Linked DNA regions of Homo sapiens: region 1 is linked to region 2. Evidence: promoter capture Hi-C in human tissues and cell types (Jung and others, 2019). All regions are on one chromosome and are shown on one strand. Each heading gives the region's core, a stretch centred on a gene start or on the middle of the fragment in contact. The rest is flanking DNA. Distances are from core to core; before and after follow the strand shown. Region 1 has its middle 20 kb from the start of AKR1E2. Region 2 holds the start of KLF6 (KLF transcription factor 6).

The links. Contacts are between HindIII fragments. The study calls those that stand out against the background at their distance.
Region 1: a contact is called between a fragment that was not itself captured here and the fragment with the promoter of KLF6 in region 2, in 1 of the 25 tissues and cell types used here (IMR-90 fibroblasts).

What each region holds. Positions count from the first base shown.
Region 1 is chr10:4,804,388-4,807,242 of GRCh38, forward strand. No RefSeq gene overlaps it. Among named protein-coding and RNA genes, the nearest start is that of AKR1E2, 20 kb to the right of the region's middle. The HindIII fragment of the contact is 6,184 bases long and covers 1-2,855 here.
Region 2 is chr10:3,783,934-3,786,633 of GRCh38, forward strand. KLF6 (KLF transcription factor 6) reads right to left here and starts at 1,276. Exons shown (of 4, transcript NM_001300.6): 1 at 980-1,276. The coding sequence starts at 1,081. RefSeq lists enhancers at 1-97, 98-654, 655-1,210, silencers at 816-1,415, 1,666-1,945, 2,126-2,185 and a promoter at 1,077-2,014. The HindIII fragment of the contact is 14,996 bases long and covers 1-2,700 here.

The DNA.
Region 1 (2,855 bases), core at 248-2,747, 1.0 Mb after region 2:
TTTACTTCAAAAGATTAAAGACATAATTACCAGTGGTTGGTAGTACGTCTATGAGGAGCAGCGAAGGCATCGCTCATCTCGGGCTTTTGAGACGCGTGCCATTATCAAGCCTAACCGTGCAAACCAGAGATGCAGAGCTGACTTAAAAAGCTGCTGTTTTGTCCCAAGAAAATCCCTTAATACAGTATCTGTTTTTCATAGTAGTTTGGCTAAGCTTCTGACATTACCATGACTTGCTTGCCCATGTTTCTAAACCATACTGACTCAAGGAAAAGGAGTCTTTGGATAGAGATAACATGCAATTGAAAATCTGATGATATTTTGCATAGTCAGAAAGACTTTTCCTGCTTAGAAAATGTTTTCTGTATAACACAGATGTGTTTTTCAATGCCTTGGAATTTCCTCTTTAGAAAATATGTTGAGTCAACCGAATTTTTAAAGAAAATAATTATATCCTGAATTTAGCTCTGCTGAAAGAGCATGCAAAAGTTGCAATCATGTCCTTTGTAAATGTGTTTTAAAGTTTTCCCAGAGTTTATCACGTGAGGATGAAATGAAGGAGCTGGGGTCTCAGGGTTAATGTATACTTTGATTTGCAGAAGAATAAGAAAGTGTATACAGGTAAAAATAAAATACATATGTGCCAACATGTACATTATCACTAATCCTCAGAATTTAAAAACCTCTACTTTTTAATATTCAAAATCCTTATTGGTCCTTATTTGGAATATGTTTATCATTAAAAGATTCCTAGTAAAATAAAGATTGGAAGTGGGTAAATGTGTGAATATGGTAGAAAGGTCTCTTCATGTTTCCAGTTTCCAGGGAGGATTACAAACAAAGCCACTTTAAATGTTTTTTTCCAAAGTGACTATACCATTGGCATTTCTACCAGCAATAGAGGAGAGTTCTGTTTGGTCAGCATCTTTGCTGACACTTATGTAGCCAGTGCTTTTTTATTTTGATTATTCTAATAGAGGTGTAGTAGTATCTTATTGTGGTTTAATTTGAATTCCTGTAATAATTAAGAATATTCAGCATCTTTTCACGTTTATTTTCTATTCATATATCTTGGTGAAATGTCTTATCAAATATTTTGCCCAATTTTTATTGCTCTCTTTCTTCACTATTGAATTTTCAAAGTTTATTATATATTTTGAATGTTACTTATTGATTAAATATATGTTTTGCTAGTATTTTCTCATAGTGTTTGGCTTGTCTTTACATTTTCTTAACAGGGTCTTTCAAAAGGCAGGATTTCTTAATTTTGATTAATTATATTTGACCTTTTCTTTCAAGGACAGTGTTTTTATTCTTATATCTAAGAACTCTTTGCTGAACTTACGGTCATCAAGTTTACTTCTAGAAATTTTATATGTCAAAACCACAATGATATACCATCTCACGCCAGTCAGAATGGCGATTATTAAAAAGTCAAGAAACAATAGATGCCGGCAAGGCTGTGGAGGAATAGGAAGGCTTTTAAACTGTTGGTGGGAATGTAAATTAGTTTAACAATTTTGGAAAACAGTGTGGTGATTCCTCAAGGATCTAGAACCAGAATTATCATTTGACCCACCAATCCCATTCCTGGGTATATACCCAAAGGAATATAAATCATTCTACTATAAAGACACACGCACATGTATATTTACTGCAGCACTATTCACAATAGCAAAGACTTGGAACCAACCCGAATGCCCATCAGTGATAGACTGGATAAAGAAAATGTGGCACATATACACCATGGAATACTATTCAGCCACAAAAAGGAATGAGATCATGTCCTTTGTAGGGACATGGATAAACCTGGAAGCCATCATTCTCAGCAAACTAACACAGGAACAGAAAACCAAACACTGCATGTTCTCACTCATAAGTACGAGTCGAACAATGAGAACACATGGACACAGGGAGGGGAACAACACACACCAGGGCCTGTTGGGGGACGGGGAGCAAGGGGAGGAAACATACAGGACAAGTCAATAGGTACAGCAAACCACCATGGCACACGTGTACCTATGTAACAAACCTGCATGTTCTGCACATGTATCCTGGAACTTAAAGCAATTTTAAAAACAAACTTTATATGTTTTAATATTTAAGTCTATAATCTATTTTGAGTTAATTTTTCTATACAGTGCAAGATATGGGTCAAAGTGCAATTTTTATGCATACGAATATCCCAGCATCGATTACTACAAAGACTTTCCTTTCTCAATTGAATTGCCTTTGCAAAGCTTTGTAGAAAATCAATTGACAATATTTAGCAAGTCTATTTCTGGACTCTTTTCAGTTTCATTCATTCAGGTGTCTATCCTTCTGCTAATGCCACACTGACTTGACTACTGCAGCTTTACAGTGAGCCTTGAGCCAGGTAGCGTGAGCCCTCCAATTATGTTCTCCCTTTTTCAGTGTGGTTTGGGTTATTCTTTTGAATTTTTACTAAATTTTAGAAGCACTGTGTCAACTCTTATTTTAAAAATCACGTGTCATGTTGATTCAAATTGCATTAATTCTATAAATTAATTTGGGGAGAAATGACAATATCACTTGAGTCTTCCAGATCATGACTAGAGAACATCTTCATGTCTTTTTAGGTGGTCTTTAATCAATGTTTCTTTCATACTTTTTTTTAAATTTTTTGACATACAGGTCATTCACAGAGTTTGTTACATTTATACATCATAATTATTTTAGGTTTTTGGTGCTATTAAAATGGCAGTCTTGAAATTTCAATTTCAAATTGTTCATTGCTAGCACATTAACATGCAACTGATATTTATTTATTTATTTATTTATTTATTTATTAGAGATGGGGGGGTCTCACTCCATCACCTAGGCTGGAGTGCAGT
Region 2 (2,700 bases), core at 26-2,525:
GGAGGGGGAAAAGGCAGGAGAGGACTGTGAACAATTAAGCAGGCGTGTGAAGGTTGCAACACCCTGCATTTCATCTTCCTTAAAGCTTTCGAGGCTTGGAAACCCACAGCCTCTATTTGATCTGGCAATTCACTTTGTGACGAAAAACAAACAGCACAGCAGGGCAGGGAGACAACAGTAAACCCTCCTGCGATCGCTGGAGAGACAATGGGAGGAGTGTCAGTCTCTCTCCCCTCGGGCGATGCTACCTATAAGCACGGGGACCTGGTAAGTTTCTTAAATTTCCAATGCCCCCAAATTCCAGTTCTACGACAATGTCGGAAACCGAGGTCCTTCTTTCCAAACTAAGACTTGAAGCAGTTTGGACGGGCTCATTGTCACAAGACTGACAAGTCACTGGGGTGTACACAGTTTTATTTTTATTTTTCTTGGTCAACAAGAGAAGCAGGGAAGACAAATAAGGCAGATCTAGGGGAAATGTTAGGCATTCCAAAGAGCAGAAAACACATTGGAAATGGTCTACAGTTTAAAAAAGACAAAAATAAAAGAGAGCTGGTCTACGTTCTGGGGGCAAAATGTGATTTTTTTAAAAAACTGTTAAGTACAAGCACCAAGAAACAAAACAAAAACAAAATCCGTTAAAAAAAAACAACAAAAAACAAACAAACAAAAAAAAAACACCTTGGCAGGCAGAGCAAGTTGGTCCCCATGACAAGCTCCAGCTGTGGCGTCTGGAGCGGGGACAGGCTCCGAACTCGTGCCAGGGGCTCGGCCGGGCTGTGCCGGGAGTTGGGGCTTCCCTGGGCGGACGCTGATCGCAGCCTGGAGGATCGATCGGCGGGGGCGCTGCGCCCGCTCCCCCGGTGACAGCGCGGGGCCCAGGCCCAGCGGACCGCAGAGAGCACCGGGTCTGAACCCCAAACAGCCGACCCGGCCCGCGCCCCGGCGCCCGCAGGGAACCGCGGCCGGCTGCGTTTACCTGTTGCCAGTACTCCTCCAGAGACGGCAGCGCCGAGAAGTAGCCGGTCTCGTGCACGATCTGGAGCTCCTGGAAGATGCTGCACATGGGGAGCACGTCCATGTCGGGCCGGGTTGGACGGAGCCCGCGGTCGCGAGGGCGGCGAGGCGCGCGGTGGGAGCCGGAGCCGAAAGTCTCCCCGGAGCGCAGGTGAAAGTTTCATGCAAACTCCAGGCTCGCAGAGACGCCCGGCCGGACCCTCCCGCAGCCCGCAGCGCGCGGAGCCCACACAATATTTGCAAACACCGGACTGACTGCAAACGTAACCCCTGCAAAACTTCCCTATTCAAAGCTCCGCTGCCAGCCTCCCCCTCCGCCCCCGCCTGGCTCCCCCCACTCCCCCTCCCCCCACGTGACTCGCCCCGCGCCCGCCCCGTGCGCGGCCCAATCCCGTGGCTCCCGGCCCGGGGGCTGCGCGCCGATGATGTCAGCTCCGGCCAATCGCAGGCGGCGACACACAGCGGCCCCGCCTGGCGTGACCGAGACTCTCCATCACGGCCCGCACCATTGGCTCAATTCGAACTCTGCTCGTTCTGATTGGAAAGTGGCCTCGCAGGCTATTTTTAGCAGGGTATATAAGGCGCGGGCGGCCGCGCGCCGGAGGAGTCCGCGCTGTGAGGTGCGCGGCCGAGCCCTGCACTGCGCCCGCGGCCGGAGCTAAGGGAGCCGGGGCTGGGAGAGCCGGGGCGGGCCGCGTCGCCTGTCCCCAGTCCCGGTCTCTCTTCCCCGCTGCCCGGTCCCGCCACCCCACGCCCGTCCCGGTCACCAAGCCGGGCCCTGTCGCCGCGCGAGCCCCGGTTCCGGCAGCTCACCCTGCGGGCGGCCGTCCGGTCCCGGGGCCGCCCGGTTCCCCCCCGTCCCCTTCTATGCCCGAGGCCGCCCCGTCCCCAACTGTCCCCTTCTACGCCGGGGGCTTCCCGGTCGCCAACTGTCCCCTTCTATGCCCGGGGCCGCCCCGTCCCCAACTGTCCTCTTCTGCGCCGCTCTGTTTCCCTACATCCCCCTAGTCATCCTCTGTTCTCTAACCTTGGGGTACCCCTCTCTGTCCTCCTCCACCTCCGGGTCCCTCTCTGTCCCCCTCCATCCCTGAGCCCGTCTCCGTCCCCCTCCAGTCCTAGGGTCCCCTCTGTCCTCCGGGCCACCAGAGTGGGGGAGGGGAGCACGCAGGCTCCCCTTGGAATTGGGAGAAACGTGTTTATCTTGTAGAGGGCGATCTTAGCCCTCACCAAGGTTAACAGCTAGGTTTTCCCATGAACGTGTAAACAATTTAGGTGCAAGCCGACATTTAGTGTGTGTGTTTTTTTCCATATAAATTATCTCCTAAAATATACCGTAATGTTCATTTTTAAGAAAAATGTCGAGACTCGAACCAGAGCATTTTAAAATCCAAAATGGAAAACTGAATTGTAACTGTATTATAGTTTTTGTTTCAAAATAGTTTAATGAACATTAAACATTTTGAAAGAATGGACTATGTAAAAAAAAATTAGAGGGTTTTGTATGTTAAGTTTTAGAGGGTCCGGCAGAAGCATGTGGCTGTAAGACTAGGTGGGGACCTTAGTGAGTCTGGAGTGGAGAAAGGAGGTTTGTCTTGTACCTGCGGTATGTGGGCGGTGAAGGTTATGCAGAGTGAATTGACAGTGTTCTTGGCTCGTGTTCATCACATTTACCCCAGCAACTGA